7 separate regions of the Homo sapiens genome follow, and all the other regions are linked to region 3. The links are contacts of gene promoters, found by promoter capture Hi-C in blood cells and fetal thymus (Javierre and others, 2016). All regions are on one chromosome and are shown on one strand. The core of a region is centred on a gene start or on the middle of the fragment in contact, and the rest is flanking DNA. Distances in the headings are between cores, read along the strand shown.

Region 1 (3,714 bases), core at 1,020-3,519, 500 kb after region 3:
TCCAAGAGTCCAAAACAGGACTGGAGTGGTGAAAGCAGTAAGTAATTCTGAATGGGATGAAGAACAAGGAAACAAAGGTAGTATTTATGGAGGTCTCTCCATGTAATCTTTTCATTGCTATCTTGAAGGGACCTAAGAGTTTAAAGCAAGCAGGTTTCCTCAGGGGAATAAAGAAAGGGGGAGCAGTGACTCAGTACAGCATCCCCTGAGTTTGGTAGTTACAAAGCCGTCTTGCAAGGCCACAATGTCTGGGTTCTAAGAGTGGTAAGGAGAACAAATGGCTGGAAACATGAAAGGTGGAGCACGGAAAGGAATGAGGAATTAAGTGGAAGAGAGATGGGAAGTCAGTCCCCACCCCATGTCTCCAGGTACTGCAGAGGAAACATATGAGGGATGTATATATGGTTTTGTTTTGTTTTCTGTTTTTTGTGGGGTTTTTTTGTTTTGTTTTGTTTTTTAAATACGGAGTCTTGCTCTGTCGCCAGGCTGGAGTGCAACGGTGTGATCTCAAATCACTGCAACTTCCACCTCCCGGCTTCAAGCGATTCTCCCGCCTCAGCCTCCCAAGTAGCTGGGACTACGGGCACACACCACCATGCCCAGCTAATTTTTGTATTTTTAGTAGAGACAGGGTTTCACCATGTTGGCCAGGATGGTCTCGATCTCTTGAACTCGTGATCTGCCCGCCTCAGCCTCCCACAGTGTTGGGATTACAGGCATGAGCCACTGCACCCAGCCAAGAGATGTATATATGTTTTAAACTAAAAGCTTTTGAAATATAGGAGCCAGAATCCTCCAGAGCTATTGTGACCTAAACCACCTTAATATTTTCTTTACTTAAGATGGAAACACAAGAAATGTCAGACTTCCCTGTACACTATACATGAAACAACTCTTCACAGTGAGAAAATTTCACTCTTCATTTATTCCAAAACAGAGAAATGATGTTTACTTATATGGTTGATAAGGAAACAACCCCCTGAAGAAAATAGCAGCTATTGCCTTAAGGCTTCATAAAGAAGGCTAGACATACAATTTAATAAAATTGTTTTTAATAAAACCATGGGGGCTGCAATAGTTCTCCCATCCTACATACTTTTCCACTTCTTTTATAAAGGTTTCAGAAGACACCAAAGGGAAAATGCTGCTCTCAAGTTACACTGACCAGAGGATCCAGAGGATTCCAGGCAATGCAAAAGATGTCTGGAGAAAAAAGCATCCAAGAGTCTAATTAGGTTTAGAAATTAGAGAAATGCTATACACATCCTTGCACTCTAGACTCACTCTGTGTGTGTGTGTGTGTGTGTGTGTGTGTGTGTAAATATATATATTCAATTCAGAGATATATTTTATATATATGTCTCTCAGAAGTTACAATACACTCCATTAAGATACAAAAGGTTCTATAATATACTATTATTTTAAAATTAGGTTAAATTCATTTAATCCAACTTTCCCAAGTTTGTTGGACATGGACAGCCCCCATTTTATAATAATATCTATTAATAATAGCTCAGCACATATTGGCAAACACTGGACTAGAGCAACAGCCTGGCGTAATTCCTTCCTCTCTCTTCACCAAATACTTTTGGGAGACAAAGGAAACACCCACTTTGTTAAATACAATACAGTCCTCTCCTATTCCCCATCATCTTTCTCAGCCTGCTACAGGTTGAGCATCCCACATGCAAAAATCCTAATTCCAAAAGTATAATACAGATATTCTAAAATCTGTACATTTCCAAAATCAGAAACACTTTTGGTCCCAAGCAGATAAGGGATACTCAATCCGTACACAGGGTCGCAGGAATAAGTGGTGATGGCAAAAATAGAAAATTCTCTTATGGAAGCTATAATTTTTTTAATCACTTTGAATTTTATTCCTTAAAGGCAAGAGACAAAAGGTCACAGGTTCAAGGGTGAGGTAAGAAAAAACAATGAGCTTCCCAAGAGAAAAGAAAGGTCATTTCCTATATCCAAACTCTCATGTGAAACCATGGCCAATCTGAGAGTTGAAATCCTCTTTAAGTCTCCAACACTTATGAGAAGGAAAAGTTATTTGAAATACCAACCAGTTTACTTTCTACCCTTCTCATCATTTCCTTCCTCTTATGTCTACCAAGGAGCATCACACGTAAATAGATTACAATGCAGACCCTCCTATTATTCTGATACTACTACCAATCAAAGATATAACCTAGGAAGAAGAAGCTAGACTCTCAGGCAGATCAATTTTAGTACTATTACCATTTTGAGATGGATATTTCTTTGTTGTGGGGCTGCTGTGTGCATTATAGAAGGTTAGCAGCATCCTTGGCCAGTGCCTGTGCCAGGAGCATTCCACACCCTCTGAACTGTGAGAATCAAAAATGTCTCCAGATCGCCAAATGTCCCAGGGAAGGGGGCTAAATCACTCTCTCCACTTGAAAACCAGTGCTCTAGGGATGTGGGCTCCTAAACTTGACACCGTGGGAGAATATACTAAGGCACTACCATCTCAGGCCTGGCCCTTCTTTCTCCTTAGCCATCTTTCCTTGGCCCGTGTGACAGTCTGTGATGCTATTCACATACATCCTGACCTCGCCATGGTAGGGTAATTCACGAAGTATGTTGATATCTAAATTCAGGGCTACGTCCTGCTTGCCATTAAATTCATATTTGGAAAACCATGGTTATCAGTGGTTCTTTACTAGAGGTCCATGGACTTGGGGCATGAATGAGGACTATAAATAACAGGAAGCCATATATATACAGCTGATCATGGAGCAGATGGAGCCTAGGCATACGTTTTCCTTTCAAGTTCTCCAAGTAATTCTGATCTATCTCTGCTCAAAAATCATTGCTATGGCAAAATGATGCAGCCCATGTGGTAGCACCAACCTAAGTAAGGAAGCTGCACTGATGGTATCATGACAGACTCCATCCCAATATGTGATATTTCATAACTACCAAATACCACAATACTCTAACGCCTGTTCCTGGGTGTCTTTTACAAGGAAAAATTATGAAACCAGTCATTCACTGGATATTAAAAACATGACCAACTATATACCTTATCAAGTAGCTCCAAAGAAGAATAGAGAAAATAATTGTTATTTAATGATTGCCTATGATGGTCAGGCATTGTGATAGAAACTTTATATAAATTACCTTTAATGATGACCTTGTATGATAGCACCTATATCCTGTTTTACACATTGGGGGAACCATAGCTCAGAAATGTTACACAACTTGCCTTGGGTTACACATCAAAAAGTACCAAGATTCAAAGCTAGACTCTGTAAGACACTACCTTCCCAGTTAGACTGCATATATATTATAGCTATTTGCAGCACAATGAAGATCCTAATCTTGTTTCAAAGACACTCTTCCCACCATCACAAAGAAAACACAGGCTGGGCGCAGTGGCTCATGCCTGTAATCCCAGCACTTTGGGAGGCTGAAGTGGGCGGATCACTTGAAGCCAGGAGTTCGAGACCATCCTGGCCAACATGGTGAAACCCCATCTCTACTAAAAATACAAAAATTAGCCAGGCATGGTGGCACATGCCTGTAGTCTCAGCTACTTGCTACTTGGGAGGCTGAGGCAGAAGAATCTCTTGAACCCAGGAGGCAGAGGTTGCAGTGAGCGAAGATCGCACCACTGCACTCCAGTCTGGGCAACAGAGCGAGACTCTGTCTCAAAAAACAAAAAAAAAGAAAAGAAGAGAAAAC
Region 2 (3,989 bases), core at 20-2,519, 480 kb after region 3:
TAGAAAGGTACCAGCCATCATTTCCTTAAAGATAAGAGGAATAAAGAAATCCTGAACCAAGTAAAATATTTTAGTCATATCAAAAGTTCTACAGATACTCAAATCCATGAGTACATAAACATATACACTTCTTTTTGGTTCTGATTTTTTACGATAAAACAATTGATAGCAACTCTTCTCTGTGTGTAAAAGCTGACCTTGGACAGTTCTGTTATTTGTCAAATATTAAGATAAGACTTTTCATTTTCTTTTATATAACTCTCACAGCACTCCTATAGGGCAATGACGCCCCAAGTTTGACAGATGAAGCACAGAAAGGTAAAGAACTCAAGATTTTACACTCCCTTGGCTTTACTACTGGAACTCGGATTTCTTGCTTCAAAGTTTGTGTTCATTCCCATCTTACTCACTGTCTCTCATAACAAATCATATCCCCATTAATCCATACCCGGTGTGAATCCCTGGGAGATCAGAAGACAAAAAAGGCAAAACACCGACTCATCTTGAAAAACTTATGAAAAGTTAAATGGCAATCCAAGAATTAAAGTCGATTGTGCTTAAATGTATTTTTGTCAATCTTTTCATCTCCCTTTCGTGAGTATCCATTTTCTGTTCCTAAACAGATGGGACAATCCTCAAAAGCAATAGCCCCATGTCTACAAATCCTAGAATCTTAGAGGTCATTGGCTTCAACCTCCCACGATACAAGGATACTCTCAAAGAAAACCACTTTCAGCCTCTGCCTGACATTCACAATGGGAAGATGATCAACATGGCCACCACTGTTGCCACCTGTAAACTCCCATCCTGTGGCGGTAAGTATGTCTTCTACAGTTGCAAGAAATAAAGCTTCTCCCCAAGCTTATTCTGTGTAGGGACGAGAACACAGAACTTATCATCAGAAAATTCCCATTTCAAGTCCCAGGTTCACCACTTACTAGTTCTATGACATGAAACAAACACTGAAACATCCCTGTGCCTTGAATTTTTGTGCCCTAACATACAAAATGGTAATCACCAGTAACAACTATCCTTTCTTACACTGTCTGTCAGAATCAAATTCAACAGTTTTATGAAAACATTTTATAGACAAGCACTCTACAAGGTTAATATCTGTTCTCTTTTCTCAAAATAATTAGAAGTAGTATAATAGCACTAAACTTGGTTGTTGAAAGGCCAGATGTAGGTAAATTATTAAACTTTCAGAGTCAGTTTCCTCATCTGTATAAGATTACGATAATCTCTACTTGATTCTGAAAATATCAAAATGAGATGATGCATGAAAAATGCTTTACAAACTAAAGTTCCTTCAATTCTAAGAATGACTATTATTATACCATTGGTTATAATTTCCAGGTCCTTCATATACTAAAATTCTCTTACTCTGGACTAGATCAAAGACCCAAGCTATGGTCTAAGAATAAAGACTACACTGGGACCACTGTCCTTTCCTGCATGTCATTTACAGTTAATGTGGTCAAAGGCTGCACTGCCTTCATCTGATAGTCATATCACAGAAGACGCCTAAGATGGCAGTAAGTTAGAATAAAATCCCAGGCCTCTCCCCCAAAAACATCTATTGAAACAATTTCCCCGAATGCTCTATTTGCACAGCTAGTTGGAAAGGTGGGGGGCAGCTTTGTGCGGTTTATATTTATCCTTACTATAATTCACCTTCAAAGCTTTGTCTGACCCATCCATTTCAGTCTCTAGAATTCTGATTTTTGTCACACCCAGAAGAGTGGGTATTCCACACCAGACCTGCATGATGGGCTAAAGTACTAAGGCAAACATGTTAAACCATGTTGGCAAACACGTTAAACGGGTCAGAACCAAGGACAGCACCCATGACACTAGCTATTAGTACCTATTATTATAATATTTCCCTCCAAGCTAGCACTGATGCCGCATCAATATGCCCAGGGCACCCACACTGCGACATCCGGTCTGTAGTCATCTATATGTGCCATTGCCCAGTCCATATCTCTCTATTCTGTCCTCGGAGGTATTTGGAAAAATCAGCAGATGATGATATTACCATCTATTTACATCATTCTTCAGACCTACCTACTAGCCTGGTAACTTTATCCAAAAAGGAAATAAGGTGAGGAGGGTATGGCTGCTTTCATGTTCCCGTGCTGGGGTTTACTACATAAAGTTGTATTGCAATTTTTCACTTACATGTTGACACTAGCTGCTTGGTAACCCTTTTAAACATATCTAGTTCATGTTCATTATAGAAAATTTATAAAGTGTAGATGAGCAAAAATTTTTAAATCCCTAAACCCCATTTCCCAGAGAAGGGAACCACTTTTCACATTCTGTATACATCCTTCTAGGTTTACACAACCATACACAATCTTTTCAGAGGCTGATTAGCCTTTGAAACTCATCTAAGAATTCTGCTAAAGCACAACATCAAATTTAATAGCTAAATCCCCCAAAAACACCTTCTCCAGTTCTTAAAACCAGGAAGTCTGCTCATCAATCATCTCTGGTGCTATCATGCAAGACTACCATGTGCAACTGTACAAGCTGTACAGGGCACAATTGTACCCAATAGTTCTGCATACTGATTTTCAATTGCTTCACAATGTTCTACAATTTGAAAAATCACAACCACAGGTTTTGCCACTATCCAGGCATACAATGTATTTAGGCCTACTTGTCTATAGGAGCTATGTGATTGCTAAATATCTTCACATCTTTCTCAAACACAACTTTGCTAACCTTTGTTTTAAAGCCATTATTCTTGGGTTGGGGGGATGGTGGGATTAGGTTAATGGGAGTGAAAATATGTTGTTTCTTTCTATTATCACTATACTATCTATTCTAAGCACACTATCCCTTCATCCTTTATAATCTGGCTCCAAATAGTTAATTATTTTGTTTTCAACTCTTTCAATTTACTTCAACATTTTGGACAATTTAACATTATTTGGAGTTTGGTCTTCTTGGTACCATTCTCAAAGGTTTCACAGGGACTCACTCTATCACCCAAGTTGGAGTACAGTGGCACAATCATGGCTCACTGCCACCTCAAACTCCTGGGTTCAAGCAATCCTCCCACCTCAACCTCCCAAGTAACTAGGACTACAGGCACATGCCTCCACACCCAGCTAATTTTTTTTTATCATTTGTAGAGATGAGGTCTCACTATATTGCCCGGGGTGGTCTCCAACTCCTGGGCTCAAGCAATCCTCCTGCCTTGGTCTTGAAAGTGCTGGGATTACAGGCGTGAGCCACTGCGCCTGGCTGCCTTTCTTCCATCTTCTATGTTTACTTAAAATCAGGGAAATCCAAGGATAATCACGTGGGGTTCTGCTTGTGCCTCTCCATCACTAGGATTGACAAATTATTCATCAGAATTTCAAACTGCAGAATCCGTCAGCCTTCTTTTATCACATTTTTGTTCAGTCTCTAGCCGTGGACTAACAGACTTAGCTCTTTCAATCTTTCTAACGCTGGGGTACTTATCTATCTTCCTTTTCTGATTTCTACACTTAATATTAGAACATAGCTAATTACAGCATCTCACTCTGTTGCCCAGGCTGGAGTACAGTGACATGATCATGGCTCACTACAGCCTTGACCTTCCAGAATCAAGTGATCCTCCTGCCTCAGCCTCCCTAGTAGCTGAGACTACAAGTATGCACTACCATGCCAGGCTAATTTTTTTTAAAAAAAATTTTAGTAGAGACAGGATCTCACTATGTTGCCCAGGCTGAGAACATAGCCACTTTTAAAGTAATGTAAACTTCACATCATTAACCCAAATCCTCCTAACTGGTTATAAACACATCTCAAACTAATTCCTCTCTAGAACCCTCTGCTCTCTGAAAGGTGAAACAAATGGCAAGACAAGGATGCATTAGGGGCTGCATGGTGGCTCACACCTGTAATCCTAGAACTTTGGGAGGCCAAGATGGGCAGATCGCTTGAGTCCAGGAGTTTGAGACCAGCCTGGACAGCATGGCAAAACTCCATCT
Region 3 (4,174 bases), core at 1,020-3,519:
GGGTGTGAGTGGTGGGGAAAAGAATGTGTAGTATAAAATGGATTTGGAGTCAAAAGACATTCTGACTAGATGCCTCTTCAACTGTAAATTGGAAATGATCCTGCCTCCCTACTTCATGAAATTGTTCAGAAAGAAATGTGAAAATAACCTGAAAGTAACCTGAATAATAATTAGGATTATTAGTTAGCAGCTAAAACGTTTGGAGTTTTCATTGTGTGCCAGACACTCATTGAGTACTCACAACTCTGTGAGAGTTGTTACTGTTCTTAGCCATATTTTGTAGAGGAGGAAGCAGAATCTCAAACCGTTGCTTGCTGGAATTTATAAGTAAATGTTGGTGGCAGTATTCAAATGCAGTACTTCTGACTCCTGAGTTTATGCTCTTACTCAGAACTGTTCTCTTGGCTGGACTTTTTGGTCAGTCTGATTTGTTTGGTAGGTGAGATTGGCAAATATACTTTGAGCATTGAAAAATACTGCAAGCATTTTAGATAGGGTATAAATAATTATATACCCATTCCATTCACAAGTAATAAAAAATAGTAACAATATAGAAAATTGGAAGCATGATTCTTAGCCAGGAGATACTTCAAACTAGCAGATGGTAAGCCAAAAACTCCTCGACTGGGTTTGTCAATCTTCCTATAAAGCAAGATCAAAGACGGCGGCAATGACTCGGGTCATCGGTGGGAGCATTTCTGTCCATTTCTATTTATGGTTGGTCATTGCATCCTATCTTGGGATCGATTCATTTTCTCCAGAACTTGGGAAGTTACGAGTAACTCTGCAAGTCCAGCTCTGGCAATCAGAATGTCTAAGTAAATTCAGCTTAAAAGCTTCATGCAGGAATTTTCCCCCTCAGCACCTGGTTTTGAAAAGGTTTTCTGCACTTGTGTCCGATGTTGAAACAGAGGCTATCTGTTTAAAATAGCCTCAGCTTTGAAAGGGAACTTAAAATAGCTTGCAAGGAGGCCTGATATTTGGAACAATTACTAATGTTTTATAGTCATGGCTTCAGCAAATAGCACTGTTCGACAGTCCTACCTCAGTTTATGCTCCAGTGGACCATCAACCATTGCCAACGCAAGGAGGCTTTAACCAAATAGTCCAGATTCCTGAGTTTTGCTTGAGCCTGTCCTCCAGCGTCTTTCTCACTGTGACCTATTTTCCTTAGCATCAGGCTCAAGCAGAGCTTGGCTGACACCAGCTCTAGACAGTGAGGCAGGTACGTGACAAGAACACCTACGTTTTGGGGTTGGTGGGAAGGACAGGAGTTATGCCTCTGGAAGGGGCAGAGGCGGTAAGAACCAGTGTCCTGAATGGGGCCCTGGTTAAAGGAACGAAGCTGCCTAGTATGCAAACGGAGGCAAGTCTTAGTCCGGTTTTGGGAGGAGGCCGGAAGAGGGCCTCAGCGTGGTCGCTGACCAGAGTCCTGCTGGCTGCTCCCCGGCGTGCAGCCGTCCGTGCTGGGGTTGCAGTGACGTCTCGGGGCCGCTTGGTGGTAGCCGTGTGTTTCCAAAGCTGGCTCGCCTACGGGAGAGTCCAGCTGGGATCCCGTGAACCGACCCCAGAGCCCCGGAGGGGGCGAGGGGTGGGAAGGAGAGATGCCCGGGAGCCCCCTTCGCAGCGGCAGGGACGTAAGAAGAGGACGGGGGCTCACTTAAGTGGGTAGCCAGTCAAGAGGGTGGCTGGGAAACTCCACGATCGCAGGGCGGGTAAAAGCGACCCCCATTCAGTGGAGCCGCCCCGGGGCTGGGTTTGACCCGCCCCTCTCGGCTCTCCACTAGAGCGCTGGTGAGTGAGTGCGAGTAGCGAATGTGGGCAGGTGAGGACGTTCCGTACCTAACTGCGTTCTTGGGGAGCATCGCCTGCCCAATTTGGGCAACGTTTGCGCGGAGGAGCGGTCACTGCGCTCGGGCGCAGAGCTCCGACGGCTTCCAGCGCTCACCAGCTTCAGTCTCGCGGGTCCTGCCCCTTTGGAGCTGCCGGTCCCGTCTCCGAGAGTCTGAGCGCCTCCCCTCCAACCCCGAGCCGCCAGGAGAAGGAGGAGGAGGCAGCGAGAGGCCGCGGCAGGCAGGCGAGCAGGCAGGGCCGCCTTTGATGTGGGCTGGGCGCACCCAGGCGAGCTGAGCGCCCGTCCGGCCGCGCCCCGAGGGGGGAGCCCCCAGGCCCCGCATCCTCATTGTGCCGGCTCGGGCCCGGGCCCGCCCCCGGCCCCCCGCCCCCTCGCCGCCCGCGCGTAGAAAACGCCCCGGCCGCCGCCAGTGGTGGGAGGCGGCGATGCGCACGGCCGGAGAGACGCGGAGGAGGAGACATGAGCCGGCGGGCGCCCAGACGGAGCGGCCGTGACGCTTTCGCGCTGCAGCCGCGCGCCCCGACCCCGGAGCGCTGACCCCTGGCCCCACGCAGCTCCGCGCCCGGGCCGGAGAGCGCAACTCGGCTTCCAGACCCGCCGCGCATGCTGTCCCCGGACTGAGCCGGGCAGCCAGCCTCCCACGGACGCCCGGACGGCCGGCCGGCCAGCAGTGAGCGAGCTTCCCCGCACCGGCCAGGCGCCTCCTGCACAGCGGCTGCCGCCCCGCAGCCCCTGCGCCAGCCCGGAGGGCGCAGCGCTCGGGAGGAGCCGCGCGGGGCGCTGATGCCGCAGGGCGCGCCGCGGAGCGCCCCGGAGCAGCAGAGTCTGCAGCAGCAGCAGCCGGCGAGGAGGGAGCAGCAGCAGCGGCGGCGGCGGCGGCGGCGGCGGCGGAGGCGCCCGGTCCCGGCCGCGCGGAGCGGACATGTGCAGGCTGGGCTAGGAGCCGCCGCCTCCCTCCCGCCCAGCGATGTATTCAGCGCCCTCCGCCTGCACTTGCCTGTAAGCGCCCGCGCGCGGGGCTGCCCACCTTGCCTGGCTGTCTGTCCGTATGCCTGTGCCCTGTACCTCTGTCTGCCCGCCCGTCGGTTCACCTGACTCTTCGACTGCGTGTCTGTCTGTCCGTGCGCCCCCTTCCTCAGGTCCCACTGACCGCTTCTCCATCTGTTTCCCGCAGGTGTTTACACTTCCTGCTGCTGTGCTTCCAGGTACAGGTACGTGGGCTCCTGACTTTGACCTCCTCCCGCCCCTGCCTCGCGGTACACGCCGACCCCCCTTCCCCGGCCGCGCCCCCTCCCTGTGCCCCACCCCTCCTGGGCGCTGAGCCCAGTGCACCTGTTCCCAGGGCGCGGAAGGGCGGCTCCGCGTGCGCCCTGCGCCGGCGGGGAACCGGCCAAGGGCAAGGGGCTCTGCCGCGGGGCCCGAGGAGGCGCTGGCTGTCGCGGCCACTGTCGGCCTCGGCTGGGAGGAGATCCCGCAGAGCCGGCGGGCTCAGCCGCAACAATATACCCAGCTCTAAGACCCCTGCCCGCAGCCAGCGAGGGGTAGGACCTAGGGATTTTCTCTGCCAACCTTCCCTTAACATCGCCGCTTCCAAACAAAAAGACTTTCAGCCGAGTGGATTTCGAGTCCAGGGAGAAAGCTTCAGTTGTAAATTACTCTGTGGTTTTGAAGGCGCTTGCAGCACTGAGACACACACACAGACACACACACATGCCCGGGACGAGGGGAAGCTCGAGGGCGCCTAGGCCGAGTGGCCGCTGCCCGCGAGGCCGCTCCCGGATGGGCCGCGCTCCGCACTCCCTCGCCTAAGGTGGTGCAGCCCTCGTTGGTTCCCCGCCTGCTCCCGGTTCGCTCGCTCTCCGTGAATCAGAAGAGGGCTTGGCGCTCGGCCTGGAAAGCACTTGCTAAAATCTGATCTGTTACTTCAGCAGCTTTCAGACTCGGGAAGGTCTTGGCACGCAGACAGTTGGAACGCTCTGGCTTCCAAAGCCGTAGAAATGAAGGAAAAAGGGTTGGGGGGAGGGAGAGAGAAGAGCGAAAAAGGGAGCCGACTTCAGCCCCGATTAGAACCAGACCAGGGCTGCCTCTGCATGGTGGGGGTCGGGGGGCGGCGGGCAAAGGGAATAGGAAGCGTCAGCTCCCCAAGCCCCCACCCACCTAGTGCTGCAAGGGGCCAGGCCAGGAGGAACTGGACACAGGTCAAAAGAGGGTTGTCTGACCCTTCCCCCTCGGTGGAAGGCAGGTGGCTTTCCGGGATTAGAGAAGATTCTTAGACCTTAGCCTTCTGGATTGTGGAGATCCCCAGAGCTAGCCTTGAGC
Region 4 (4,263 bases), core at 701-3,200, 410 kb after region 3:
AAAAAAAATTGTTGGATCGGACTGGGCGTGGTGGCTCATGCCTATAATCCCAGCACTTTGGGACACCGAGGCAGGCAAATCGCTTGAGCCCAGGAGTTCAAGACTAGACTGGACAACATGGTGAAAGCCTGTCTCTACAAAAAACAAAACTTAGCTGGGTGTGGTTGTGCACCTCTGTAGCCCTAGCTGCTCAGGAGACTGAGGTGGGAGGATCACCTGAGCCCTGGAGGTCAAGGCTGCAGTGAGCCATGATTGTGCCACTGCACTCCAGCCTAGGTAACAGAGTGAGACCCTTTATCAAAAAAAAAAAAAAAAAAAAAAAGTGGTGGATTCCTCAAGCTCGGTGTTCTTTTGTTGCCATGCAAACACACTCCACACATGACATCCATCCAGGTCATATCACGTTGCTCCCCTAGACTGGGGTGCAGAAAAACCAATGAATTATGCTATTGCTCATGTTACTTCCTGTGTCATAAGTAATAAAGTCCTTTGCCTTGGACTCAGGAGTCTCATGTATTCTGCCAACATCCATGAAATACTAATAGTCTCTTATTAGCTTGTAGGTAGGGTAAAATAAAATCACAGACTCAATGAGGACTGATTCCAGGGCTGGCCCAGAAAAAGTTAAGATTTATCTTTTACCAAAACATAAAGTAGTGCTTAGAGAAAGATAGGGACTCATCTAAAAAGATACAGAATTCAAGGTGAAGGGGCTCTCACTGCCCAAATCTGGGACAATTTTATTATCAAATAAATGAGGATAGCAACTGATTGTAACCTGTCGAATAAGATAGGAACCCATAAATCCAATCAATCAATGATATTTCTTGTACTGAAAAAATTGTTCAGAGGAAGTTTTAGAAGACATGGGCAAAATGACCTGCTCTCTATATAGAATGGAAGACATTAACTCTTCTTTATTTGTTTCTTTATCAGAATCCATTCCCCATTTCCCAATATTTGTTTGTGGTTCTCCCCTCCTTTCTCAGGCCATGAGTTCTGGATAAAAATCCCTGTTTCAGGGGTAGAACACATAACCCAATCCTGGCCCATAAGGCACATCATGCTTTGGGCCATTTGAACTAGTTCAGGGATGAGTGCTTGACCTCACCAGTCCAATTAAAGTGAATCTCAAAAGTTTTGTGGAGGTAAGGGGGAAACTCTTACTTTTTTCCATTGGGATTGAACTTGATGTGAGTTTGGAGCTTCTCAGCCCTCTTGTCACCATAAAAGAAGAGCCTGAAACTTTTGCAGACACCACGTACAGCCTGTGAATAAAGCTGATGTGTAGATTTGTCGTGTTCTTTGCTGAACATTCTTAATATGTTTATGGAATTTTCAGCCTTATGAATCTTTTCTCTCTAAGGTAGAATTCAGAAAACTTATTTCTCTAGCCCCCTTTGCACCTAGCCGCTAGTCTATTCTAGGTGCCACCAACAAGATGTATTCATGTAGACTTTGAATATAATGTAAGAACATGGAAAAGGAGGCTCTTCTCAAAATCCAAGTTGCTAGAGAAGGTAGCACCAGAAACATCTGGTTGTGAGGGTGTTGGTAGTAGTTTAAAAGTGAAATTACTAGAACAGAAATAACATCAGTGCTGGCAGCAGTATTCATTGCACTGAAGTTGAGTTCCTGACAGCATTGTGAGATACAGAATTTAGTGCTTGGTAGTAGCAATGGCCACAGTTTTCTCAACAGATCAGTTCTCCAGCATTTTTAGGAATATTATTTCTGGAAACTTAGCCTTGAGCCTGATTCTTCTGCCTTTGCAACAATTCTACATTATTGCTATTCTTTCATTAAGCTCTTTTTCTGCTTATTAAGTCAGAGTCAGTTTCTATCATGCACAACTAAAAGTCTTCTCTGATTAAAAAAAATTTTTTAATTGGTACAAGGAGTAGGGTAATGAAAGTAACAGAACCTAAAATATGGCAGAAGAAGGATCTGATTATTACTGACAGAAGCTGATGAACATTCTTATGCAGTTGCAAACATTTGGTCAAAGTGCTGCCTGCTCTGCCTTAAGACATTATATCTATTAGGGATATGGAGTACAAAGAAATTATTGAAAATTCCAGAGTATTAATCCATGCTGGCCACTTCTTACTATTTTAACAGAGTCCTACAAGAGAGATGATTGCCAACAAGAGCTAGCCAGTCTTCTTCAAGCCAGTGGAAAAGATACAGCTTTGCTAAGGGAGGCACTATCTGACTACAACCTCTAATCTAAATTGACTGAGAATCCCATAATTTGAAGTCTGGTGGGTTGAAAAAGCTCAAGTAACAGCACAAACAACAGCCATAAAGCCACAGTGTTAGCAGGAAATTATATCAGTGCCAAAGCTGTTGTCTAGTACCTTCCCTTAAGAGTTTCCTGCCAAATAAAGAGGGAGCACCAACACACAAAGATCAAATTAAAGGAGATGTTTCTCCACCCAAGGTTGCTATTTTAAATTGCCCTGAAGAATCAGCCAATAAACCAAGGGCTAAAGGGCTGGATAGGGCACAGAGAGAGACAATGGGTTAAAAAAAAAAAACCATTTAGGCTTACCTACTCTGTCTAGATAAAATCTTTTGTGGTTACTTACATATGGAAGTCTCTGAAACCAAAGACTGGATCTCTATTACATTTTTGAGGAATGTATATTTCCAAACAATCTATGATAGCCTGTGACTGTTCAACTCTAAAAATAATCCTTGGGGATCAAACTTCTACCAAGAAGAAATGTGCAGTCCCCAGAAAAGACAGCAACCCCAATATCTTTCAGCTGTAGCTAAGGTAATAAGCAGGAAGTATCCTCCCACATCTTGTCCTGATGAGTGGACTGCACATTATTACTCAGAGATCCTGAGTTTCAAGATGGATGCAGTAACTGCCTTTGGACTTTGGACTGTACATAAAGTATATGTATAGAAATAAAAGCAAGTGGATGTTGGGTAACTAAAAGGGTGAACTATGGCAGACATTTTTAATCGGCCACCTAAAAGCCATTCATAACCTTCTTCCTTAATTTTCTTGGCAGCAAAGTTAAAATATTCACCTTCCCAGACACCTCTGCTGCCAAGGGTGGCCATATTACCCAGTTCTGGCCAATACAATCTAAGGAAAATTGCTGGACAAGGCTTCCAGGGAAGGTTTTTAAAAGAAATAGTTTCAGATGACATAAGTAAGGCAATTAACATTTTTCTTTCAAAAATAACAAAAATATTACATACAAAGTTGAAGACTCCTTCACCCTTCAACTCTAGTCTTTTACCCTCCCCTCATCTCCTGTTATCAGTTTAGTGTGCACCTTTCCAGACCTTTTCTCATGCATTTGAATACATACATACCTATACACACACACAGAGAGAGAGATAGAGAGAAAGAAGATATGTAATATTGTTGGGAGTTACCTAAATGGTATCATGCTAAGGGTATAACTCTGCAACTTGCTCTTCTTACTCAGTAACATGTTTTGGAGATATTTCCATACCATACTTGTAGATTGATATGGTTTGGCTCTATGTCCCACCCAAATCTCATCTTGTAGCTCCCATAATTCCCACATGTTGTGGGAGGGACCCAGTAAGAGATGACTGAATCATGGGGGCAGGTCTTTCCTGTGCTGTCCTCATGATAGCGAATGGGTCTCATGAGATCTGTTGGTTTTAACAACTGCAGTTTCTTTGCACAAGCTCTCTCTTTGCCTGCTGCCGTCTATGTAAGATGTGACGTGCTCCTCCTTGCCTTCCACCATGATTGTGAGGCCTCCCCAGCCATGTGGAACTGTAAGTTCAATAAACCTTTTTCTTTTGTAAATTGCCCAGTCTCAGGTATGTCTTTTTCAGCAGTGTGGAAATGAACTAATACATAGATCTTCCTCATTCTCTTTACCAGCTACATAGTTTCCCATAGTATGAATGCTCCACAATGTATTTTTTAAAAATAACTTTAACTTTTATGTTAGATTCAAAGGGTACATGAGTAGGTTTGTTACCTGGGTTTATTGTGTGATGCTGAGGTTTGGGGTGCAATTGATCCCATCACCCAGGTACTGAGCATAGTACCCAATAGTTAGTTTTTCAATCCTTTCCTTCTTTCCTCCCACTGTAGTAGTCCCTAGTGTCTACTGTTGACACCTTTATGTCCATGAGTCCCATTGTTTAACTCCACTTACAAGTGAGAACATGCAGTATTTGGTTTTCTGTTCCTGAGATAATTCACTTAGAATAATGGCCTCTAGCTGCATTCATGTTGCTGCAAAGGACATGATTTTG
Region 5 (3,811 bases), core at 787-3,286, 430 kb after region 3:
CTTGACAGGTTACAGTGACCACATCCAGGAGATCTTTAAGGCCTTAATTGTGCCCTTCAGTTCCTGTCATCATCATTATCATTATCTCCACCACCACCATCATCATCATCTACATGCCTGAAACTGGCGTATTCTTATGCCATGAACTGTAAAATATTTCATTTATTTTCCCTACTTTAACCAGCCTTGTGACCTTGTTCAAGTAACCCCACCTCTCTAAGCCTCAGTGTTCTCATGCATGAAATGGGGCCTGTAAATTCCATTTGCAAAAGGACAGTGAGCTGTTGTTTTCATCCCCAATCCCTCTCCTCCCTGAACTCCCTCCCTGAACTCCCTCTCCTTCCTCCGTGAAGTGCCCTCCGCCCCCAGGGCCTGGATTCCGGCCACCAGCTCTCCTGCCCCGGCTTTTAACGTTGGTCCCTGCAACAGGCCAGAACATCTGCCTGTGAACGCCATGGAACTCTGCCCCTGCGCTGGGGTCCTGCCAGCAAAGAGTTTAAACAAACAGAACTGGGCAGAAACGAGATGGTCCGCCGGTTGTAAAGGGTCGCACCTCATGCGCACACGCTCGGGTTTCATGATAATCCGAGTGATGGTTCTCCTGAGGAGGATTAGGAAGAAAACGTTAGGGGGCTCTGCGGGGAGCAAGAAAAAGTGGTTGTGTACCCAAGACAAACACTGCCAAGAAAGTGGCCTTTGCTGACCAATAAACCAAAGTGTGGGAGGGGGTGGGATTGGGGTACTGGAGGAAAGGAAAATTTGGGGCTCTGTCCAACTCTTCTAGTGCCTAAGTCAGACCTTCACCAGCAGAAGACCGTTCCACTGAATGTGTGGAGAGAGATTACAGCAACCCCAAACCACTGTGGTCAGAGGCTGGCGGGAGCTCCTGCATGTGGGGGAGGAGCAGCAAGCCCATGTGCCCTCCAGAGCCAGGCAGGTAAGCCAGGAGGGGCGCAAGGGACACCGCAGAGCACACACAGTGAGCCACAGCAAATGACACCGGCCTCAGCACTGGGAAGGTATTAGGGAGTGGTGGGGACTGCATCCAGCTGGAGGAACACACCCCACCCAAAGCAGGCACCTGGGACTGAGCTGCAGCTCCAGCCGGTCTCTGCCAGGCAGGAATGTAGGCCCAGTGGTGCCAATCTTCTCTGATTTTTTTTTTTTCAAGAGAAGCAGAAAAGAACAAATTTTGTTTTTTGATGTGCAGGTTCTCAATTTTTAAACATTGGCAATGAGTTCAAATGGGTTTTGAAATACTATGTGGGCCAAGCAAAATATATCTGTTAGCCAGATTTGACTCACAGGCCACTGGTTTGCAATTTTCTGAAGTTTTGGTACCGTAATAAAAGCAATGGGTCCTGCCTGGATTCAAACACCAGTTCTCCCATCTGCTGGCTGGGCAACCTTGGGCAAGTCCTCTAGCCTCTCCAGGCCTCAGTTGCTCCATCTGTAAAATGGGGATAATAGTAGTGTCTACTTGATATGATATTTGAGAAAACTTCATGAAATCATGTCATGGAAATTCCTTGATATCTCTCTCTCTCTCTGGAAATGTTAGCTTTATTACTAATGCACCCTCTGCAGGCTCCCTGGGGGGATGGAAGATAAAAACAGCGGCAACGGGCAAAAACGGAGGTGAGGAAAATGGACCAAGCAGGCAGAACAGAGCCAAACCAGAAAACGCCGGCCAAGCTTTCCCTTACTTGCTGTGTCAGAATGGCCCTTCAGGGATGATTGGCACAAGCTGACATCAAATTGACAAGAAAAGATTGGGCAGTGGCCTGAAGAGTGGCCCTCCAGTATCTGTCCACCTCTTTCCAAAATAGCAACAGGCGACCTTGGGAGACCTTTTGGATTGCAGCAGGAAGAAAGTCAGTTACAGAGGGTGTCCTAGAGGAGGTAAAAGGATGCCTCCGGTCTGTGGCTCAGCCACTGCCCCACTCTGTGACTTCAGCCAAGTCATTTCATCTGCCTCTGAGACTCCACTTACCCATCTGTAAAATAGGTTGACAACAGCTGCCTCTCAGGATGCTGGTGGTGATTAGCGATCACGCAGTATAGGTAGGGTCTGGTACAGAATTCATGTTCGACAAGTGGGAGCTGCCGTTATTGGCTGTCGTTTAGTTATTTTTATGAATGAGGCAATAGAGGTGCTTGTCTGACCAGCATCCGCTGACCTCTCTTCAAGTAACTGCCCCGTTTGCCTCTAAAGAACCATTCCTCTCCTGTTCCCCACCAAATGGTTCCGTTGGTGTTGGCTCCTCCCCAGGCTCCAGGGACAGGCGTGTGAACCCGGCACAGCTAATGAGAATAGCGTAGTATCCCAGGCCAATGGGAATCAGATCCAGGACTTGCATTCAAACCATGAGGGAAGAGAAGCTTTCCCTTTCCACCAGATCTGTTCTAGTGAGGAGTAGGCCGGAGCTGCTGGCAGCTTTCTCACTGCCACATGGGAAGAGCCTGTCTGAGAATGATATCAATAATGAGGAAATCAGAGCAAAGATTTGGAAAAATTCTTGTTTCTTGATAACACTGCTTAAGCACCTGGATCCAGCTGTGCCTAAAGTTAGCACTGTGTCGGACTCTTCAGTTACCACAGCCAAAAAATTCATTTTCTGGCTTAGACCATTTTGGATTGGGTTTTCTGTAACTTGCAACCAAGAAACTCAACAGATATACGAGCCTTAAGGATGAGTTACGAAAACACCCCAGGGGAGAGTTTCATTAGCTGGCACGTCTTATAGGCTCTCAGACCATGCTTTGAGCATGATAGCACTACTTCCTTCTTCCAAGAGTATGATAAAAATCCTTCCAAGAGTATTCCAAAAGCCTTGCACAGACTTTGGGTAATCTTCTCTTAAAGCAGTGGTTCTCAATGGGAGAGGGATTTTGTCCCCTAGAGGACACTTGGCAATGTCTGCCTACATTTTGGGTTGTCACAATGGGGAGGCAGGAGGGATGATACGTGCTACTGACATCTAGTGGGTAGAAGCCAGGGATGCCGCCAAATATCCTACAAGGCACAGGACAGACCCCACAAACAATGATCCCATCCAAATGTCAGTCGTGCTGAGGTTGAGAAACCCAGGAGAAGTGATACATCATCCCGTGTTCTACTCCTACCAGCCCCACCATACTTAAAGACGAAAACCAGGCCACTTAATGGGAGTATGGGAACTTTATATACCTCATGATGTTTTCTTAGGGTATGCAATGCTGTGATTCAAGCCCAGTTGAAAGAAAGACATTGCCCAAAGTTTACACACAGATATGCCTAATCCCCTCTGGGGTCTGCAGCCTCCCTGCTATCACCATAACAATCACAGCCCATAACTACTGGACGAACAGGAAGAGCAGGAAACCTCTCTGAAGATGGACAGTCTAACACATGCCTGCTCTCCCACACCCAGCAATAATGGATCCGACAAATAAGCAAATTATACGAATCCCACATAGCCAATAAAGGGGGAAGACAGCATTTCCTCTCTGTCTAGAGGACCATTTCTCAGTGTACTGCTCCTCAGAACACTAGTCCTGTGAGATACTCAAAGGGGAAAAAATAATGATTTCAAGGTCAAAAAGGTGTGGGAAACACGAAAGCCCCTGTTACCTTTGTGGATGGTAACAACATCCATGAACACATGAAAGGCTCTGATAAGTCCCTCAGCAAATAAACCTGCTTCCTTTTCTTTAACTTGCTATTTCCCAAACTCACTTGATCTCAGAATCCCTTTGCACTATAATACTTAATTAATATTCCACTGAACTATTGTCCCACAGGACACACATTGGGAAACATTGCAAGGGA
Region 6 (3,861 bases), core at 320-2,819, 370 kb after region 3:
AAACTGGAAACAAGCCAAAAGTCCATCAACAGGTAAAGAGACTGATTGTGCAATATTCTATGTTCATATAAAATAAATACTCATCAATAAAATACACAATATACTCATCAATAAAATTGAGCACAAAAAAATAGAGGCATTTCGAAAACATTGTCTTAAGCAAAAGAAACTAAATGCAAAAGCACACACACTGTGTAATTCCACTTATACAAGGTTATGGAACAGGCAAAACTACTCACAGTGACAGAAAACAGATTAATGGTTCTCTCCAGGCAGGGCAGGAGTGAGGATGGAATTGACTGCAAAAGGAAACTTTCTAAGATGACGGAAATGCTCTACATCTTGATTGGGGTGATAGTCTACAGGTATAGACATTCATCAATACTCATCAGACTCATCAGACTATACATTTTAAATGTGTGCGTTTTATTATATGTAAATTATACCACAATGAAGTTGATTCCTTTTCAAGATCAATTAAAATGAAAAATGTTTACATGAGAGAAAATGCAAATTGAACATCAGTAAGTTGCAGTGTTATCTATTTCTTCAAAGTTTGGGAGTTTTGTAGTAAGTAAGTGTGACTTAGATAACTAGAACAAAAGTTAAACTCAAAAAACTGTCTTATAAGCATTCCCATGTCTGGCCCTTTGTGATGGAAGCAGGGGGACCTGGAGAGAATTCATCCTCATGTTCTTCCTCCTCTTCCTCTTCTTGCACCCTAGACGCTGTTGGCATTGCTGATCTTGGTGCTGTACTTGAGCACAGAGATATGGGGTGAGCATTCTGGAATCTGAGAAAGAAGGAACCAAATCCACATGAAGCTTGGTGGAGTGTTCCAAAGATGGTTGTATGTTAAGGGGACCTCCATAACCCACCTTCTCCCACTGACCCTTCATCACACTGGGATAACTAACCATGTTTATTTCAATTAGTGCTCATTTGCTCTTCAGAGGTGATGTTTGTGCCTGTTTCAGGAAGCAGTTGGGAGGTGTCAGAAAGGATCAGAGAATGTAACTACTACCAGAATCTTGCAGTTCCCCAGGTAACATGTCCAGCAAGGTACTGAGGTGAGGCAATCTGGGAAGGCTTTCCAGAGGAGGTGTCATTGGCAACATGGGTCATGAAAGATAAGTAGTCGCTTGTCAAGTGCAGAAGGTGGGAACAGGTACTACGAGCACAATGAGTAGCATGTGCAAAGGCCCAGGGATCTTTTTGAAACCAGTGGGGATGGGGAGGAGGGTCCTATCTGAGAAAGCACAGGATGCCACTTCTGTGTCTGCCTTCCAGGGGCTTGAATATCAGACCAACGAGCCCTCAGAAGAACCGATAAAGACCATCAGGAACTGGCTGAAGGAGAAGTTGCATGTCTTCTCGGAGAAGTTAGAGGAAGAGGTGCAGCAGCTGGAGCAGCTAGCGTGGGACCTGGAACTGTGGCTGGATGCTCTTCTGGGAGAGCCACACCAGGAGGAGCACTGCTCCACATATAAAAGTCACTTGTGGGAGTGGGCCTGGGCCCTGGGGAGAGAGCACAAAGGTGGGGAGGGGTTGCTAGAGATTTCTCTAAGCGGGGCAGAGCTCTGACTCTTGAAGTTCCAGTCAGGCAAGAAAATAAAGTAGTTGGGAAATGAAGTCCGCTGTTCACATTCATGAATGCTGACAGAAACAGCGTTGGCGGAACACCAGAGCCCGGCTGAGATATTCTCCCTGGCACCATGACGTGGCCCCCTGGAACAAACACGGGCTTCAGAGCCAGCCATAGGTTCAGGACTCTTCTACTTTCTTGAGACGTTGTGTAAATTTCCTTAACCTGAGACTCAGTTTCCTCACATATAAAAATCGGGGAAACACACTTTGCCTTATAGGAAGACAATGTATGTAGGGTGTGTATACAGAGTGCGTCTGGCACAGAGCAGGTATCGGATAAATAGCTCTTCCTTTCTCACATGCCTTTTCCTTCCTCCCTGGAGTGTGGTAAGAGGATACTAGCTCTGGCTAAGTGTGTGGCTATTATGCGGCATTCAACCCTCTGACTCTGCTGGTGGAAGTATACGTTCCTAAAATCTCTATTTGGTGATAGCTATCAAATTTACAAATGCATTTTCTCTTTGACCCAACAATCTGCTTCAAGGAATTTATCCCACAGCTGCATTTGCCCACACATGAAATTACATGTGTATAAGATTATTCACCCCAGCTTTATTTGCAGTAGCAAAAAAATGGAAGCAACCCAAATGATACCAGGAGGGCTCTGGTTATATAAGTTATGGTACAGCCAGACAATGAACAATCATGTAGCTATAAAAGAGAATGAGGAAGCTTTCTACTATGGTGTGAATATGGGTGACCCCCAAAATGCATATATTGGAACCTAATACTCAATGTGACAGTGTTAAGAGCTGGAGCCTTTCGGAGGTGATTAGGTCATGAGGATTCTCCCCTCATTAGTGAGATTAGTGCCATTATATTAATAATAGAGGCTTGAGGAGCCTGTTTGCCCCTTCCACCATGTGAGGACACAGCTAGAAGTTCCCTTTTATGAGGAATAAGTGCTCACCAGACACTGAATCTGCTGGTGCCTTGATCTTGGACTTCCAAGCCTCCAGAACTGTGAGTAATAAATGTCTATATTTACAAATTATGCAGTCTAAGGTATTTTAACTGCCCACATGGACTGATACTTTCCTTCTGCTAAAATGGGAAAGCCTGAAAGATATGTAGTTAAGTGAAAAAAATTAAGGTATAGGCCAGGCACAGTGGCTCACACCTGTAATCCCAGCACTTTGGGAGTCCAAGACAGGCGAATCACTTGAGGTCAGGAGTTCGAGACCAGCCTGGCCAACATGGTGAAACCCCGTCTCTACCAAAATTACAAAAAATTAGCCCAGCATGGTGGCATGCACCTGTAATCCCAATTACTAGGGAGGCTGAGGCAGGAGAATTGCTTGAACCCAGGAGGCAGGGGCTGCAATGAGCTGAGATTGTGCCACTGCATTCCAGCCTAGGTGACAGAGTGAGACTCCGTCTCAAAAAAAAAAAAAAAATTAAGGTGCAAAAAGGGAGCAGAAGATAAAAATATATATTTTGTTGTTGATATTGATGATGATAATGACGTTATTAAATATGCATAAAAACTCTAGAAGGATACAAGCCTGCCTGGGAGTGAGGGGATTTGAAACTGGGAGATGTGTAACAAGGATGGGAGGAAACTTTTCAGCATATATTTTTCATACTTTCTTGTTTTCAAACTATGTGAATGTTTTGCTTATTCAAATATTTTTTAAAAACAAATTTCTATTTTGCATGCAGACAAGAACTGGAATATATGTATATAAGCAAAAATAACAGTATCATTATGATGAAATTATGATTGAATTAATTTTTAAAAACAGTCCCAAAAGAAAACCCTTCTCTTTTGATTACTTTATTTTGATTAAACAATGATCATTTTTTATCTAGGACTTCCCCTTTTTCCTATTACCTCCAGGAAACTTATAGTTGTTTGTTACTGGAATTTTATCAGCCTCATTGTTTTGGGTTATTTATTTTCCCCTTTCTATGACTTTTTTGTTTTCTATTCTGATGGAGCTATTATACATGTACCAATTATTAGAACCACCTCAAATCTTTGGATAGTGATGAGGGTTTCAATTACACTAATCTCAGAGGACATCTGACTTACAGGGGATGGCACAGCAATTTGTTTGCCAGGAGGGATTAATCAATTGCCATTTGGGATGGAAAAAGTCTTTGCAAATTATGATCCCAATTTTCCACTTTGAATATTTGGCAGGAGGTTGGGACCAGAATCTATTTTTTCACATTTCCAGCTATTTCACCAAGAGTTCTACGGGAAAGGTC
Region 7 (4,273 bases), core at 1,710-4,209, 450 kb after region 3:
ATAAACTGACTGAACTCTTCTGGAGGGCAAAATGACCTACATACGCACATGTACCCTAGAACTTAAAGTATAATTAAAAAAAAAAAAAAAGTCTTCAAACGTGATACCTTTTAACCCAGACCCTCCAGACATTTCCAGAATCCCTCCAAAGATGATAAAGGGTTGGACAAATATTAGGTTAAAAGAATGATCATAGCATTGTTTTTTATAATCACTAAAAACTGGGGGTTGGGGAGGATAAATATGTAACAACAGAGCATATCCAAACAATCTAATATAATTTGGCAATTAGGAATAATTTGGACAAATACATTACTAACATGCAAGCATTTCACAATAAAGAAGAAAAACACATTTGAAAATGTACAGTTATAAAGCGTCATTTTAAAAAGCCTGAAAGGATCTATAAAAAGGAGTTAGTGGTAAACCACGAGCAGGAGTTTACTTTCTTCTTTTGGCTTATCTACTTTTTCAAATTTCCTAATAACGATCTTATATTGTCTTGTAGTAAGAAAAAACAATAAATTTTGAGCTACTGAATATATAATACAACATACAGCTCTTAGATGTTACTAATTTTTTTAAAAACGACTCCGCAGATAGATCTACTGCTGCATTTGCTGACATGGAGAGACTCTCACCTGATATTTTACGGGTGAGTATTTTACTGCAAGGTTAAATCATCATTAGGGTAGTGTTTCTTATTATGCATAAATCTTATGGTATCACATGGCTATAATTTTTTTCATGTTACAATAAATGAAAAGCATTTGGGGCCGCACGCGGTGGCTCACTCCTTTATTCCCAGCACTTCAGGAGTCTGAGGCGGGCAGATCAATTGAGGTCAGGAGTTCGAGACCAGCCTGGCCAACATGGTGAAACCCCATCTCCATTAAAAATACAAAAATCAGCTGGGTGTGATGGCACATGCCTGTAGCCCCAGCTACTTGCAAGGCTGAGGCAAGAGGATCACCCGAGCCTGGGAGGCGGAGGTTGCAGTGAGCCAAAATTGCACCACTGCACTCCAGCCTGGGTGACAGAGCAAGACATTGTCTCAAAGGGAAAAAAAAAAAAAAATTAGAAAAGAGCAGTAAAATCTATAAAGTTGACTGCCAAGGTTGTTAAAAGTAATAAAATTGAAGAGACAAACACATTTGTGGTCTCACTGCTTGTGCTGGGATACAGGGAACCTCCAGCTTAAGCAGATAAGATTTTTCCATTGACTTATAATTGATCACAACTAGGCAGTTGTTCTGAGGTTTCCAAAAAAGGTAGGTAGGAGGGAGGGCCTGGAGGAAGTAACACAAGTTTCCTTTCTACCACAGCCAATAAGAAACAGCATTGGTGATCACTGCTTCATCTCTCAACCAAAGGAATCTTGTTCAGGGCACTTTTAGGTAATATATAGATGTTGTCAGTTCATCTATTGTAATACACCAGAAAAAGAAAACCATAATATGGATGTCTTGAATTTTGCCATATGCCTCTTTAAGCAGTTTTTACTTGGGTCCATTCCTCCTTCCCTATATTTTCTTAGGCTTATTGGGAGGGGAGGTCAGGGGGAGGAGCAATCACTCAAGAGATCCTTGTCTCCTTCCTCTGTAATTCCTATTTTAAAGCTCCATTCAATAATTACAGTAATTCTGCCACGTGGATTTTTCAACTGACTTATGAAGCATCTATCCAGAAAGAAAGCAGCAGGGCAGAAGATTATGATCAGGAACAGTCTGAACACACTCGAGACCCATAATAGCAAATAGGTAAGTGGCTTACAGGTCACTCCTGCAAGGCAGACATAACCAACCACAACCAGTCCTTTGGGGTCCACGTGGGGTCCCAGAATCCTTCCAAAGGCAACACACCCACCAGTCACTACTGACCAAACTGAGTTGGCATGAAGAAAACACTTATTTGCCATTCCTGATGTAGACCCTTGGTTTACCGCTAATAGATGGAGCAGGGGCAAGACCAGAAGTCAGCCAACTTTTTCTGAAAGGGCCATATGGTAAATATTTCAGATGTTGTAGGCCATAAGGTCTCTGTTGCAACTACTAAGCTCTGCCACTGAAGCACAAAAACAGCCACAGACAATACATAAAGGAATGAGCATGGCTGTGTAGCACAAATGTTTATTTATGAACACTGCAATTTAAATTTCATTTAATTACTGCATGTCATGAAAAAAATTCTTTTAATTTTTTTAAGCATTTAAAAATGTAAAAACTATTCTTAGCCTGTGGAGACAGGAAAAAAAAAAACTTAATGGATAAGCAGAGACTAATTAAAAAAAAAAAAAACGGGTAGTGAGTTAATTTTGGCCCCTGGTTATATAGTTTCTTGACCTCTAGGTAAGACAAACTTCCTGGTGGAGTTCTATTTATTGGATCTTGGAATCTTGATGAAAGAGTATCTGAAAAGATGGTAACTTAGTGAATAGGTACCAAGAGTTCTCAATCTCTCCATCAAAAAAATTCCTAATTCTGCACATGGACTTTCTTATACTTTTGAAATTCAATGAACAGGAAAATATGTAATGATAAAAGACCACTAAGAATTAAGTAACGATTTTAAATAAATACAAATTTTATTAATCACAACAGTCTTTATATACATATATCCATAGTAGTATGTTTATATGTAAACATTTATTCAATCTACAAAGTTTAATGTGTATAGAATTCACTGGCCCTCAGCAGAACACAGAGTTGTCAATACTGTTCCTAAGTCATCAGTTCCTAGGACACAGCCAAGTAAGACTTCTCATCTTCCAGACTGAACACGCTTAGTAATAATCAAAACATTCTGTCATCAATGGTTATAATGACTTTCAGTGTTCCTGTAACCAGAGGAAAGGACTTTGCTTCTCAGTGTATCTGTTGTGTTTCATGGAAGCAGAATAGGTTTTAGGGGTCTCTCAACAGATACTCTTCTCTGATTCATCCTTGAGGAAAGGATGGTGGTGGGTGGATTGTGGTAGTGGGGAAGAGAGGGATTTTGAATGTTTTGTCAGATGGTGATTTTTTTTTTTTTTTTAATAAAAGAACTGAAGGACAGGAAAGAAAGAGAAAAAGAAGATTCTTGTACCCCAAAATAAAATTCAAGACATTTTACTGGTGTTAAATTGATTATGACCTAAGAAATCATTTAGGAACAGTTTTTAAAAACAGGAACCATGTTCATCATCTGCCAAGATGAAAACCCACACAATAGGCAGGATTCCAACTCAAGCCTTGTATGGATGTGACTATAAAGATCCAGCCTTACACTTGAACTCTGCAAAAGTTGACACGTCTAAGAGAGACCTTGGTTCACACATCACCAAGGAACCCAAATCACAAAATTTCCCCAAAGGGAAGGTGAATTCAATCAGCAAAATTGGAAGGGGAGAGGATAGTACTCACCTGAAACGGGTGAAAGTGCAGACTGTTATCTAGAGATGTAAGTGTATGTTCTGGAGGGAGAACGGGTCTCATTCTGGGCACTGGGAGGCACATTTAAGAAATCCCAAATCAAAATAGTGTCATCATGGGAGCTGCTGATGATCTGAAACTCATCAAACTGGAGCCGAAACACACGTCCAGAATGTTCCTATGAAATACAAAACTTCATGAATAAAATGAGATCTTTACAGCCCCTGATATCTCACAATGAGAAACTGGGCAGAAGATGAAAATGCAGCCACTTAAACAGACTTCCTAAACGACTGTACAGAGCTCACTGAACTGTGTCCTTCATCCCAAGAACAAATGTTCTTCTTTCTTTTCCTGCTAGGCCTTTTCTTTCATTAAACTTTGTATCTTAGACTCTAGTCTACCAATATTTCAAAGATCATCTCAAAAAGGGCCTTATAAAAGTAAACAACAATACATAATACCCATTCTTGATACACTCTAAAAATCCACTGGAAAACCTAGAACCAGAAAGACAGTTTGTTTTAACATGACCAGGATCTACCTCAAATTGCTGCCAGCATCAAAATTCATGGTGAAATAATAATATAAGAGTTCCCATTAAAATCAAGAAGACAGTTCTGCATCTTCTAGTAAATGCAAGAAGTGAAGAAACAGAAATAAAACTACTAAAATCTTTTTTAAATCTACCAATATTTCCAAATGACTATCTCTTCAAAAATATAACAGTACTTATAAATGGTATAAAAATTTATATATAGTATAAAAATGTGCTGTTATTAAAACATAACCACAAATAGCCATATTAAGAAATCTTCCAAACCTACAAGAAGGAAATATTGCTTGCCCTATGAGGAAACCAG

What was found. Contacts are between HindIII fragments. The CHiCAGO score rates a contact against its expected background, and 5 or more counts as called.
Region 1: a fragment that was not itself captured here is called in contact with the fragment with the promoter of FGF18 in region 3 in 6 of 17 cell types (M2 macrophages, M1 macrophages, megakaryocytes and 3 more); the score reaches 8.4 in M2 macrophages.
Region 2: a contact is called between a fragment that was not itself captured here and the fragment with the promoter of FGF18 in region 3, in 16 of 17 cell types (megakaryocytes, endothelial precursors, M2 macrophages and 13 more). The highest score is 46.5, in megakaryocytes.
Region 4: a contact is called between a fragment that was not itself captured here and the fragment with the promoter of FGF18 in region 3, in 1 of 17 cell types (endothelial precursors). The highest score is 5.1, in endothelial precursors.
Region 5: a contact is called between a fragment that was not itself captured here and the fragment with the promoter of FGF18 in region 3, in 6 of 17 cell types (megakaryocytes, endothelial precursors, erythroblasts and 3 more). The highest score is 38.6, in megakaryocytes.
Region 6: a contact is called between a fragment that was not itself captured here and the fragment with the promoter of FGF18 in region 3, in 1 of 17 cell types (erythroblasts). The highest score is 5.3, in erythroblasts.
Region 7: a contact is called between a fragment that was not itself captured here and the fragment with the promoter of FGF18 in region 3, in 6 of 17 cell types (megakaryocytes, endothelial precursors, M1 macrophages and 3 more). The highest score is 19.0, in megakaryocytes.

Annotation. Positions count from the first base shown.
Region 1 is chr5:171,916,481-171,920,194 of GRCh38, forward strand. The region is part of intron 2 of FBXW11 (F-box and WD repeat domain containing 11); the gene reads right to left. Among named protein-coding and RNA genes, the nearest start is that of FBXW11, 88 kb to the right of the region's middle. The HindIII fragment of the contact is 3,007 bases long and covers 767-3,714 here.
Region 2 is chr5:171,900,141-171,904,129 of GRCh38, forward strand. All of the region lies in intron 4 of FBXW11 (F-box and WD repeat domain containing 11), which reads right to left. Among named protein-coding and RNA genes, the nearest start is that of FBXW11, 100 kb to the right of the region's middle. The HindIII fragment of the contact is 821 bases long and covers 860-1,680 here.
Region 3 is chr5:171,417,378-171,421,551 of GRCh38, forward strand. It overlaps FGF18 (fibroblast growth factor 18), which reads left to right and starts at 2,270. Exons shown (of 5, transcript NM_003862.3): 1 at 2,270-2,854; 2 at 3,030-3,066. The coding sequence starts at 2,823. RefSeq lists silencers at 2,107-2,216, 2,337-2,446, 2,587-2,636, 2,697-2,776. The HindIII fragment of the contact is 2,658 bases long and covers 835-3,492 here.
Region 4 is chr5:171,828,033-171,832,295 of GRCh38, forward strand. The region is part of intron 1 of LOC105377725 (a long non-coding RNA gene); the gene reads right to left. Among named protein-coding and RNA genes, the nearest start is that of SMIM23, 44 kb to the left of the region's middle. The HindIII fragment of the contact is 9,856 bases long and covers 1-4,263 here.
Region 5 is chr5:171,847,790-171,851,600 of GRCh38, forward strand. LOC107986476 (a long non-coding RNA gene) reads right to left here and starts at 329. Exons shown (of 3, transcript XR_007059052.1): 1 at 1-329. The HindIII fragment of the contact is 687 bases long and covers 1,694-2,380 here.
Region 6 is chr5:171,789,505-171,793,365 of GRCh38, forward strand. SMIM23 (small integral membrane protein 23) reads left to right here. Exons shown (of 4, transcript NM_001289970.2): 2 at 726-777; 3 at 978-1,045; 4 at 1,291-1,632. The coding sequence ends at 1,584. Among named protein-coding and RNA genes, the nearest start is that of SMIM23, 5.6 kb to the left of the region's middle. The HindIII fragment of the contact is 1,495 bases long and covers 823-2,317 here.
Region 7 is chr5:171,865,209-171,869,481 of GRCh38, forward strand. It overlaps FBXW11 (F-box and WD repeat domain containing 11), which reads right to left. Exons shown (of 14, transcript NM_001378974.1): 13 at 3,402-3,588. The coding sequence ends at 3,427. Among named protein-coding and RNA genes, the nearest start is that of SMIM23, 82 kb to the left of the region's middle. The HindIII fragment of the contact is 6,340 bases long and covers 1-4,273 here.